Linked DNA regions of Homo sapiens: region 2 is linked to region 1. The links are contacts of gene promoters, found by promoter capture Hi-C in human tissues and cell types (Jung and others, 2019). All regions are on one chromosome and are shown on one strand. The core of a region is centred on a gene start or on the middle of the fragment in contact, and the rest is flanking DNA. Distances in the headings are between cores, read along the strand shown.

Region 1 (6,710 bases), core at 1,682-4,181:
AATGTATGTAATAGATCTGTGTTTATCTGATCTAATCCAGGATATATCCTCTGAACAGAAAAGTTAGAAAAGACGGCATTAGAAAAGACATGCAGACAACTCAAAAAACTATGAAACTTTATGGGGAAAATGTGTTATCACCTGATCTATATCTTAAAATGGTGAGAATTCATGGCATCCACCTGTCAAGATAAAGGAGCAAAGGAACCACGCTCCAAGTTTTGGGAAGAAAATAGCACATGGTGGCGACTGGGGGTGACATGAGACCCCACTCCCCATCAGGAATCTCAGGCAGCCCCTCCCTTCTTGGATATGAACAACTGAAGTTTTCTCAATCATTTATTTTATTTTTTAACTGATTAATAATAATTATACATATCCCTGGGCACCTAGTGACATTTCTATACCTATAAGGTATAGTGATCAGATCAGGGTAACTGGCATGCCCGTCATCTCAAACACTGACCACTTCTTTTAAAGTGTAGCCTGGAGCTCCCCACTGTGGATCCAATGGCTGCCACAACCACTTTGCAGAACCAGGTCGCTGAAAGGCAGCTTGACAAAAAGACTAAGATGAGCCAAGTGTACTGCAACATGGCACAGGAACCATTGATCAAATGCTGTAACTTGGTGTCATGACAACGGACAATGATGTCGAGTGGAGTGCTGGATCTCTTATCACCACTGTATCACACTGATTTAATCACACTAATCTAAGCTTCTTGAAGGGGAAAGAGAAAAGCTTTGTAGTAGCTCCCCTTCCTGGTGCTGTTCAGAAACAACAATGGTGCAGGCCACACCTCACAACGAAGGGGGCTCGGCTGGCTGGGCACAGTGCTAAATGAGCCGCAGGTCAAGAGGTCACTCCTGCAGCCAGGCCGACCTTTAGCCACACTCTGGTCCAGGCGACAGATGGGGCCCTAGCCTCAGTCCCCTTTCATCTCACATATGGGGAGTTCTTGGCCACAAGAGGACCAATTCAAAATAATATCCAGTGACTTGGTGAATAAACTCTTCCACTGGAGATGGTATTGCATTGTTGGATGTATCTTGAACTACAAAGCTTGCTTGGGGAGATTTGTATAAATTGAAGATCATTTGATTGGTTTTCATTCAAGTCCCTGCTTTCAAGTGCCTCCTGTATGTTTTTCAGTGGAACACAAGAACCCGAATTCAGTCCTTCACCTATTTCTACTGGTGTTGAAATCTATAAAGACATAAAATCTACTTGCTTAGCCAATGAGCCTTACAGAGTGTCTAGTTGCTCTGATTTAATATATCAGTGTATCGGGAAACTTTAATCCTGAGTGCAGGCTGTTGGCATATGGATTCCATGCTGGTGGTAGGTTTGGACTACCTCAGAAAAGAAATGGGCACATGCCTTCTTGTAAATATTTTGTCTTTGTAAATATTTTCTTTGTATTCATGGGTTCAAGATGCCCAGGAAACGTATGTGAAGCCCAGATGTCACAGGAATTTTCCTGGTCTGCTTTAAGGAAGTCCTTAAGCATCACACCTGCCAGTTCAAATACTATTTGAGCCCTGTGCATTTTTGAGAAATGATGTATAAGTAGAAAAATTATACAAGAAACATGGAAAAATCAACAGGACTATTTAAATGTTATACAGAACTTATGAACAGTTCAAACTAAATATTTTGCTATTAAAATTATTCAAGAATCATAGAAATCTGGAAATAAACACTTCATAAATAACGTTTTCAAATATCGCGTCAGGAAAAATTAGACAAAACCAGTTAAGGAGGGAAGTTACATTGAAAAAGACTGAGTTCTACTATCCCCTAAGTTTTGCAAAAATATTTTTAACTTACTTTCTAAAAGTTAGTGAGTTTCCATTATAAAATAGAAAAATTGTCTTCATTCCATGAAAGAACTGTCTGAAAATCAGAAAAGCACCATATCCTGGATTTCAAGGAAGATGAAACTTCTTCTTATCTTCTATTTTACTAAATACTCAAAATAAAATAATCATATTGTATTGAATCTGACATTGTTAAGGAAAATAGCTTAAAATTTTTAAATAATGAGCAATATATTTAATTTTAAAATACGAAGAATTAGGCTAAGGTGGTAATTTTTTAGTGAGTTGAAAGTCCAAACTATGAGTTCGGAAGAAACAGCCCTAAAAGGCAAATAACATGGCTTTGGAATAATCACAGGGCAAATGCTTTGTTCTACATAATTCTTCTTTTGTGAATTTTAAAATGCTCAACAAGTATTAATGAAATATGTCTAAGAAGTAGATATTGCTTTAAAATCTAATTTCCAGAGTCCCGAACTAAGGCAAAGATTGAGATTAAGTCTCCGCCCAAAGTCTTAAGTGAGCCAGTGGAAGATGGCAGTTTATTCATGAATTGTTGGTTATCTGCTGCTTAACTACTTAACACAACCCGGTTTGATTGGTAATCAGATCCTAATAATGTATGTTTCAAAGAAAGGGCAGTTTCCTTAAAATCCTTAAAGACTTGTCACTTTGAAAACTGGAATCAAAATGTGAAAATGTTATCGGTCCATCTGGCAGTGTCCTTGGGTGTTTTTTAGAGTGGTCTCATAGTGCTATTTAACTATGCTGAATATTTGACACCCAGTCTCTGTAGGAAATTGTGATTTTTATCAGCGAAGAGGCAATTAAATGCTGTCATTTGGCACGTCCATCCATCAGGGATCTTATCACCCAAGAAGCATCCAGCAGCAGTTGCTGTCCTTTCCAGCTGGCAGACAGATAACAGAAACTGTCCTGTGTGAGGCACAATAGTCTAACATGATTAGAAATCAGCCAAACTCTGGCTTCTCTTGAGCTATACTCCCCCACAGGCTGAATTATAGCTCTCCTACCAGTCCCACGGCGCTGAATGATGTCATGGGATCTGCAGTTCAGCGAGATGAAAGGGATAAAGCAGAACCCGCTGGCACTAGGAAAAGCTTCCAACACACAGTCCACAACACAGCTTGGGAACCAAAAAAGCTACAGATCCAGCCACTCAGCCCAAGCATGGGAGAACTACCAGCATTGCCTCATTGCAAAAAAGAGGAGGAAAACAACGTGATCCATGTTTAACAAAAGAGTCTGTGGACTAGGAGGTGGGAGGGTAACTACCTGCTGAAAGTGAACTTTCTTTGATATCCATGCATATATATAAACTCAGCCCTGCCTTTGATGTTCAGCAACTGATTCACTGATCAGATTACAGGCATTTCATCTCCCTGCTCGTCTGCCTTTGATCTGCATGGTTAATTTTATTTTCCTGGATTTGAAGTTTCGTCTGGGCTTGTGCTGACATACATTTTTGGGAAGGTAGAAGCATTTGGCACAGAAGTGCTGCCAGGAGAAACTAAGTTGCTGAACGGGTAAGTACTGCAAAGAGCTCAGCATGTTGCAGGTACTCTGTTTTAAGCTTTGTTATAGCTTTCACTGCATTTTTCGCATGTGTTCTGAGAAAAGAATGGTTTTAATTAATTTTTTAGAAAGCATTTATACAGCTGAATACTACATGATGCTGAATGTGTGTATCAGAGTAACTATGGAACTTGATGTAATTTTTAGTAGTTTGTACAAGAGGGTTTGCAGTCTGTCATACAAATTTTACTTGGAAATGAGTTGTACAAACAGGACAAAACAGAACAGCGCTCACTTTAGCATGCAACTGGTACTTCAACCCCTGAGATCTGTGAGCTATAATTGCTCTAAGTATTTACAGGTTACCTTATTTAGTAAACAGTCAGTGCAACTTTGCTTGTTGAAAATGCTTTCTTTGTTTTCTTATATAAAAGAGTAAAATGTATCTCTGGCAATACTGTTTCTTTAGTTTATTTATTCTCTCACTTCCAAGATGTAAATCTATCAAATACACTTCCTTATGCAGTTTGTACACTCAAGGGAATCACTGAAAAACCATCAAGTATGATTAAAGACTTTTATGTGTAAAACTGAAGAATTTAAAAACAGTGAGGATAAAGTTGCACTAAGTTTGGCTAAAAATACTCCAGTGATTTTCTATAACCTTTGGAAATAGCATAAGCCTTATTTACAGAAACATTCACAAGGTTAATATTCCTAAATTAACATTTACTTTACATTTATAGTGACAGCTGTTTTAAGTCAAAATTTGCCAACTGTTTATGAAAACTATCTGAGTAATCAACAGTTATTATGTTACATAAAGTATCTTAGTCACATTTTCACTTTAGCTAATGCCCAACATGACAAAACCAAATTATATTGCTGTACCGAATTTGAAAGTTAACTGTTATTTTTTTGTCAGTTCATGATACACACACACTCACGCTCACACACACACACAGTAAAATCTTTACAGTGAAATATAAAAACTAAATACAATGGAAAAGTAACACTGTTACTTTGTTCGCGATGTTTTTTTTTTTAATGTTCTAGTCCTAAATTTATCTGGGCAAAATATTTAATTATTATCACAAGTCTATTTGATGCTAGCTGAACCATAAAGAAACCATAAGTGATAAGACCAGTTATCCTTTAGTCTGAAATTCTGATGAAACAGGAAAGGTCTAATGAGTCTCATTTCATAAGTAATTAATTTTTCACAGCCAATTAATTAAATTACTTTCTACACTTTCCTCTTGATACTAGAAGGGTAATTAGCATTGTTTATTTAATTTTAAAACTTTGCTAGTTGTTAAGTGGAGGTTATTTAAAGCCATGCTAAACTGATTATATTTTTAAAGTGTGTCATTAATAACTTAATCTTAAAGATTTAACTGCTGTTTTTAGTCATGCCAGGAGAGGCATTTGCTTTTTTTTTCTAAGAGTACAACAAATCATGTTCACAATATCCTGCAATATCGGTTTAGTTTGATTTTTTTTTAATTTGTTTGCTTAAAATCTTCCTTTTAATCACAAAAGTGGTATTAATGTTCACATTCAGATAAAGAAAATTAGCCTTTTAAAACAATGACTGGAGATGGTGCCTAAAGAAATAGTGTGTCTGAAACTTGCTCATTTAGTTCAGATTTGGATTTTAAAATTTTTAAAATGACTGTTTATCCTGCTACTAGGATCATTTTAACAAATACAGGCTCTCCTCAGCACAAAACAAAGGGGAGAATTAGCAATTATCTGATTAATTTAGGCTTTGTAGAAAACTAGCTTGGGCAAGTCAAGTCCTTGAAAATCCACTTCAGTGTTTGAATTAATTCAGTTAATTGTTTACTTCTAGTGTCATTGTTGAGAAATGAAATAGAGTGTATTTGATTTTAAAATAAAGATGGTTGTATCTGAAGGTACAGGTACAGTCTCAAAAGGCATTTCCTAATTAATTGCCACAAAATGACTTTGGCAGATATAGTCCTATTACTTCTACTGAACAAAACCCTTATGTGACATTTTTCAAAGCACTTTCCTATCTGTTGCTTCAATGGCAGCTTTGTTACTACAGAAAGTCCAAGTCTTCAAAAGACTTTTATGTTGAGTCCTGATACTGTCACCAATTAGCTATATGACCTCAAGAGAGTTTCCTCATGTGTGAAGTGAGGGAGTTGATCACATCATCTTTATGAAATAAGCAGAATTGGAATTTTTATGGCCATTTTACAGATGAGGAAACTGAGGCTATAGAAAACGAATGTCCCTATCTTAACAAGGTCACATGGCTGATTTTCCCAGTTCTAGTCCAATGTTCTTTCCAGTCTACCATGCAGGGTCTGCTTTCCAACAACTGCTTAAACAAATGCACTCTGTAGCTCATCAAAGAACAATATTAGTTTGAAAAATAAAGACAGCCACTTCCTATTGTAGTGCATTTTTTTTTTGTTTCCATGATAGATATGTCAGTCAGCTGGATTCGTCTGATTATTTTCCAACTGTTCCTTCTACTTCTGGACTTCTAAGCTGTCTAAACACAGTAGCTGCTACCCATAATTTAACATAATTTAACACGTAAAATAATTTTCACAAAAAGTTTAATGCATCAATGTGATGTGGAATTATATATGTATTTGTGTGTTTGCCTCTGTGTGTGTGTGTACATACGAGTTTGGCATTATATCAACACATATTTGTGTGTTTTGAAGGAATTGATATTTTCTTAGATGATGCCAGTGGCATCCAAAAACAGTTTAATAATTAAAGGTTAATTTTCCTCCAGGGAAATTCCCAGTGGGATTCTGTGAAACTTCAGTTGACAAACTCAATGTGCATTTCAAACATGATATGATATGTGTTTCATATCATGTTTGATTATGTTAAGACTCTTGAGCATGTTTTCATTATCTCTTTGCTTTTCTTCCTTGAAAAAATATATCTTGGGGCCAGGAGCGGTGGCTCACGCCTGTAATCCCAGCACTTTGGGAGGCCGAGGCAGACGGATCACGAGGTCAGGAGATCGAGACCATCCTGGCTAACATGGTGAAACCCCATCTCTACTAAAAATACAAAAAATTAGCCGGACAAGGTGGCAGGCGCCTGTAGTCCCAGCTACTTGGGAGGCTGAGGCAGAAAAATGGTGTGAACCCGGGAGGCAGAGCTTTCAGTGAGCCGAGATGGCGCCACTGCACTCCAGCCTGGGTGACAGAGTGAGACTCTGTCTCAAAAAAAAAAAAAAAAAAAATCTATCTATCTATATCTTGTGTGAAAAATTTTAATTTAGTTACTAATAAAATTTTATACAAATACAGGACTCTCATGGCCAAACAACTGCCCTCATAATAGGGCTTATC
Region 2 (6,710 bases), core at 1,542-4,041, 68 kb after region 1:
GATGCATCATTTTAAATGTAAAATTCAGTGAGTTTTGATGGATGTATAACTTATGTAATCATTTCCCCCATCATGATACAGAACATTTCTGTCACCCTCCCATAAGGAAAGTGACTATTTTTAAGCATTGGTCTTCTTGGAGTGGCCTCAGAGGGGTCCGTTAGTGAGACGTCTAGGGGATATGGTTTAGGCATCTTTTTGCTCTATTGCTGTTGTAAAATGTGTGCATGTGTGTGTTAATGTTTCCTGTCCTTGCTTCATTCTCTGTCAAGAGACCAACGGGTTATGTTATGAAATTTTCTCTTTAAATGATTTTCTGAAAAATCTTCACTATTGAACTTTCTAAAATGCCATTGAAAATAATTCCTGAAAATATTGCCAGGGGTCGTAGGAGGCATGGTTTTCTTCAAAATGAGAAAAATTGCTTTTTAAAATTCTTGGTATTGGAATGTTTAACACAGGAAACATGTCAGGGAGTCTGTTTTGGGTGCAGAATGCTAGTCTAGATATTAATGAAGTGCTGCAGAAACACATCTCTCCCAGGTTGTGAATGATCTCCTCGTCTTCTCCTTTAGGGACAGCTATCTTGAATGCTAAGATATCCGTATCACTGATGAGGACACTGGGGCTGCCCTGGTGAAAACCACAGGCCAACTTCCCAGTTCTCAGGGAGTTAAGATTCCGATGCTGCAGGGCAGAGCTATTATTTACAATAAGGTGCTGAGGGAAGGTTTATTAAGGTGACCCTAGGACAGGGCCCTGAAAGAGGGGAGGAGGCAGAGACACCCACAGCAGAGGCCACAGCTGGTGACTGAGTCGATAGGTGCATCACGTAGGGCTCCTGGGCCGTTATGAAGATACATTTAACTTCCCTCGGACTCCTGTTGGAAGTAGAGTTGAGGGGAGCAAGGGAGGAAGCAGGAGCTCACTCTCCTAGTTTCAGCAGAGCATTTTTAGCTGGCACAGTAGATGTATGTGCTTTGAGAAATAGTGTGGCTTTTCACCCCTTTCTCAAGAGTTGGTTATTAGTTTATTTAATTCAATTTATTTAATTTAAATAAATCATGTATTTACTAGTTATGTGTTAATAATATTATAATATTTGCTATGTTTTGTTTGCCTCTTCAGATAGTCAAGGAAAATTAGAGTTGTTGTTTTTTTTCCTAAACCCAAGTGAAACACGTATTTGAAAGAGGTTAACTTAAGCTTTTATATTCTGCCGTAAGCTTTTACATTATCATGAGTGTTTTCTATGATTTTAGGCCCGGGGGACACAGATGAAGGCCTGAAAAATAAAATCAGGGGAAGCTCTCTCTGATTACTAATTTTCTCATAACTATCTCAGTTGATATCCCAAGACTAATGCAAACCCATCTACTTGATGTTTTTCATGGAAGCTCATGTAGGCTTCGCTGTGAAGAAGGCTTGATTTTGAGTCCTAACACTTAATTTTCAGACAAATTATTTAACTTTTCTTCATCCCTGTTTCTTAAAATGAAGATGCTAGTGATTGTAAAAGAGGCAGTAATGCCGGGGCTGAGTCCTGAATCGACTTCCTGTTCCAAGTCTCAAGAAAAACATTCTCTTTCTAACCTAACCTGGAGTTTTGTGCTTTGCCGTAAGTCCTGTCAAATGTAAAATTATAAGTGAATTAATACCGGTATCAATTCTGCTGGCATAGAGGATAGCAGGAAGCACTGTCTAAATCCAGATTTTCTTTTCAGTCTAGACTCAAACAACCATACCAAACTGTGCACAGATATACATTTTTTTCTTAGTTGGAAGTTAATGGGTGGAAATAATTTGAGTGTCATCATCTGAGAATAATTTCACAGATTACTTCTTCAAATAGTGCAGTGAGGTAAATAAGAGTTATCCACTGATGACAGGGAAGGCAGCCTCACAGGATCAGGGTCCGCAGGCTAACACCTGCCTGTCTCCACGTGGCCTTCTCCAAATGCAAGGGAAAATGGACACTCCCTGCTTTCTTTCACAGGGGCTGGAGGCCGGAGCCCAAAATGGAGCCTGGCACTCAAAGGGTTAAGGAGAGTCCGTGGTGGAACTGGGAGGGCGGAGGCCCAAGTTTCTGGTCTCTGTTGGATTCCCAGATGGCAGCGCCAGTTGAAGCACACTATTTTTGAGCTTGCTCTCCCTCAGCACAGATGTTCAAGGCCATAATAATGTGTTTCTTTTATGGTGTCTTTTCTGTTTCTCGGTGCAGAAGTTTAAAAGCTTCATTGTTTCATCAGTCAGATAAACACAGCAAGACGTTATGGGTCCGTAGACTATTAAAAAGAAAAACATCCTTGCGGGTAGGGAAGGTTCCTTTACTCTCTCATGTTTGTGAGAAACACTGTAGGTAATCTGCTGCCATTGTGCAGCTTTTAATTGTTTTCAATGTTAATGATGGTATTTATGGTAATTAACATACAAAACAGCTGTACTTACAATCCGGCAAGTGCCAAAGAGGATCCTGAAGCAGTGAGTTGCTCCGGCATAATGGGGTGCCTTCAGTCAGCCCTGCAGTTAGGGCCAGGCGCTGAGGCCTGGGGTGCACCTGCCTGCCTTGCCAGCCCCTCCCCATGGTCATTGCTTTTTCGGTCTTCTTTTCTTTTACTCAAAGACAGGCGTGATCATATTTGGCCTAGTCCATCCTGGTGGGCAGCAGGTCTCTAGACCAAGTGATCTGGAAGCAAGATGGAAAGAGCAGAAATCAAGTTTGGTTGAGGAACTGACCAGATCTCAGCTGCGGTGGCCGTCAGCCCCTGTAGCAGCTTCCTCCCTGACTTCCTCCCTTCTGCTGATGTTCCTGGGTCCCTGGTTTGCTTCAGGATCCCTCTTACTGCCTTAGTTTCTCTCCCTCACCCCGTGCCTCTGAACCATCCTCTTGACTCCTTTGCTCCCTCAGCCTCCCATCACGCTGCGGGTTCCTGTCCCTGGGCTGCCGGGTGCCCTTCAGTCCTGTTTTCCTTGAGTTTCATTGCTGCATCATGCCAACATTTCTGCTGGTCTGTTGTGTAATTAATACACATGCACATCATAGAGTGGAAAACTCTTCATGTCTTTATCTTGTCCATCAGTAATTTATTTTTGTCCTATTGAGAAGAAATAAGAGCTGTTTAGTTCAACTCAACAATTAATTTTTATTTTCTTGATAGAAACATTCACATTTTATACTAATAAATAAAAACCAAAGTCAAACTTAAGGAAATTTTAAGGCCAGGTGTGGTGGCTTACATCTGTAATTCCAGCACTTTGGGAGGCTGAGAAGGGTGGATCACTTGAGGTCAGGAGTTCGAGACCAGCCTTGCCAACATGATGAAACCCTATCTCTACTAAAAATACAAAAATTAGCTAGACATAGTGGTGTGGGCCTGTAATCCCAGCTACTCAGGAGGTTAAGACAGGAGAATCATTTGAACCCGGGAGGCAGAGGTTGCAGTGAGCCAAGATCATGCCACTGCACTCCAGCCTGGGCAACAGAGCAAGGCTCCATCTCAAAAGATAATTTAAAAAAAATTTAAATTCATATAGCCCCCGTAGCAGGTGTCCTTGGGGACACCAATTCATGACATAGCTCCTTTCCTTTGCCTCCCCTCAGGAGCCCTGCTGTGCACAGTTATAGCCACATGCCAGGGGGATTTGTCCTCCCCTTTCCCTGGAGTCTCCCACCAGTGTTAGGAGCAGACTATGAAAGATTACAGCTCTTGGAGTTCATGCTTGGTGCTTCTTCCCTAGGTAGCTCCCCAGCCAGTACCACCTGGCACAAACCAGTCAGGCCCCCTGGAAGATTTGGCCAGCAGGGCAGTGGTCTGCGTGCCCTGACCCGGCCCTGGAGGGAGCGGGCGACAGTGAGAACTGAGGCAGTGGTGGGAGGGAGGGAGAGGAGGAGAGAGCCCAGAGGATTTGGAAAGACCATTTCCAAGCGCTGCACATGGCTGGATTTGAAAGGATATGCTAAAATTGTTCTTTATTTTTCTAGCAATTGAAATACAAAGGACTTATTGTTGCAGTCAGAATGAATGATGATACTGTGGGGTTTTGGCTTAGGAACAAAACAAAACTCTGCTGACATGAGCGCAATACTCTGTACTCAGGTTAGTAAGGACCATCAACTCACTTTATAGTTTTAGACAGCATTGACACCTGACTAAGACACTGTAGTGCTGTCAAGCCAGGCAGCGGAGACGTTCTGGGTGGTGCTGACCTGCAAGAGAAAGGGGTTTGGCTACCTGAGAGGCTCTGTTATAAAACATGCTGTGGGAGGCTGTTTGTGTAGTTGGAGGAGGTTCGCAATGGAAAATAATGGTCTTGATTCGACAGGGAACCAGTCCCGTATCTCCACACACCAAGTAGAGACTTGGTGACTTCTAGCTTACTTTTAAAAATCAATTTTAGTAACCAAACAGGATGCTAATACAGGTCAGAAAATGTAGCTAGCTGTGTTGATGAGAATCATTAGAAACTGCCAGATTTCTGTGTAACTTCATGCTGCCAGCTTATCGCCAAGTAAGTGCTACTACAGCCTTCCTCGATGACTAACCTGTACCCAGCTTTGAGTGAGAGTGTGGTTCTCTCTAGTTAAAACTAAAACAGTCAGAGAGGGGAGGCACCAGATGAGCTGCTCTTTCTGGTTATAAATGCTAGGCTGGGCCAGGTGGCCTCCCGTCTTCTTTCTCCTAACCACCTTTCTCCTGCACACCTTCTCCTCTCAAGTAGGCCTTTGTCTTTCCATGTTGGCAAACTGTATGCCAAGATGTTCATCTGAGAATGTTCACCAATCCATTCTTTGAATGAATTAAATCAAATTGGCTTGTCTACAAAGAGAATTCTCATATGCTCCTCTCACCAGCCTTTGTTTCCTGCCATAATTTTGCAGTAAGTGAGGGAGACCATTTGAATGTTGATAGTAGAACTAAAAACATAGGTCCAAGGAAATACAGGTTTCTTCTCTGCCTTTTTTTCTTCAGGTTCATTTCTATCAAACTCCTTTCCTTCAGTGCCTCTTTTCTTGCATGTATTTTAAATATGTGATGTTATTGTTTCTTAATGTTCATTAATGCTGTTATTTTCTTGTTGCTACATGGTTAATAAGTCCAAACCCAGGTCGTAGTGCCCAAGCAGCTAGGGAGGAAATAGTCATACTGTTTTAGTTCGTTTAATAAAAGATTCCATGAAAGATTTTTGAATCTTTGTACAAAAATTACACTCAATTATGGTACTATCAGCTGTGTCTTGCCTGTGCAGAATTCTCTAATGATCTATTTAAGAAAAATCTTCTAAATTCAGATCTTGGGCTTGTTTTCCATATCCCTTGAGTGAGAACATTTACCATGATGACTTCTTTAAAAATTTGGCAGGAGGCACCTCAGCTATGTATTCTGAGAGCTGTCTATGTAATTGACAAATAATTAAATGTTTTCTTATTTGCAGATCAAGGATTTTCTTTTTTGGTGAGGGATGGAGTCTTGCTCTGTCACCCAGGCTAAACTGCAGTGGCACAATCTCAGCTCACTATAACCTCTGCCTCCCACGTTCAAGTGTTTCTCCTGCAGCCTCCCAAGTAGCTGGGGTTACAGGCATATGCCACCACATCTGGCTAATTTTTTGTATTTTTAGCGGAGATGGGATTTCACCATGTTGGCCAGGCTGGTCTTGAACTCCTGACCTCAAGTGATCCACCTGCCTCAGCCTCCCAAAGTGCTGGGATTACAGGCGTGAGCCACCGTGCCTGGCCAGGATTTTCTTAGTAATGGCTTTACCATTTCATTCACAATATTCCTTAATTATTTTGCTAATTGTTGCTTATTGTTATATAACATTGCTTGATGTTACCAATGAAGAAATCATTTTGATGAAGTCCTTTGAGATACTTAGATAAATGTACAGATGCTGCTTGACCTACAATAGGGCAACATCCAGATAAATTTGTTGCAGATTGAAGATATATGTCAAAAGTGTTAGTACGCCTAATCTAACAAACAGCATCGCTTACCCTAGCCTGCTTTAAATGTGCTCAGTACACTTATATTAGCCTACACTTGGGCAAAGTCATCTAACATAAAGCCTATTTTATTAGAATGTTGAATATCCCATGTAACTTACTGAATACTGTATCATACACTATGTCAAAATTGCAATGGTTTCACGCCATTGTAAAGTCAGCAAATCTTAGATTGAACCATCATAAGTTGAGGATTATCTATAACAGTGTCTATGTCTTTTATAAGAAAGAAATCTGAACTTCTGGAAAAGATTATTTTGGTTTGTTTTTAATCATTAATTCTCCTTCTTAACTTTAGTACTTGAGGGCTATGGGGACACATGCATCAACAATTAGTTGCAAGTCACTCATTCCGTCACGTTTCCAAAGGCCTCTCCACTGTATAGGCGGTTTCAGTCAAGAGACACTCCAGATTCTGACATAATCATTATAATGTCTGGATTCTGAACAATAATTGGAGAAAGCATGACTAACACTTATGGCAGTTTACTGTGTGCCAGGTTCCACGCTAACCCTTTATGTGCAGTACTTCATTCAGGTCTCACAAAAATCCTGTGAAATACATATTGTTATTTCTTGGTTTTACCAATAAGGAAACTGAGGCAAGAGGCTGTCATTTGCTGGTGGTTACACAGCTAGTGCATGCAAAGCCAGGAGGAGAACCCAGACTGTTGGCTGCAAAGCTGTTAACCATTAATATGCAGCA

Evidence for each region. Contacts are between HindIII fragments. The study calls those that stand out against the background at their distance.
Region 2: a contact is called between a fragment that was not itself captured here and the fragment with the promoter of TNFRSF19 in region 1, in 2 of the 25 tissues and cell types used here (H1 embryonic stem cells and hippocampus).

Annotation. Positions count from the first base shown.
Region 1 is chr13:23,567,481-23,574,190 of GRCh38, forward strand. It overlaps TNFRSF19 (TNF receptor superfamily member 19), which reads left to right and starts at 2,932. Exons shown (of 10, transcript NM_148957.4): 1 at 2,932-3,368. RefSeq lists enhancers at 343-855, 856-1,367. The HindIII fragment of the contact is 2,276 bases long and covers 903-3,178 here.
Region 2 is chr13:23,635,894-23,642,603 of GRCh38, forward strand. All of the region lies in intron 5 of TNFRSF19 (TNF receptor superfamily member 19), which reads left to right. Among named protein-coding and RNA genes, the nearest start is that of TNFRSF19, 69 kb to the left of the region's middle. RefSeq lists an enhancer at 3,289-3,790. The HindIII fragment of the contact is 4,953 bases long and covers 316-5,268 here.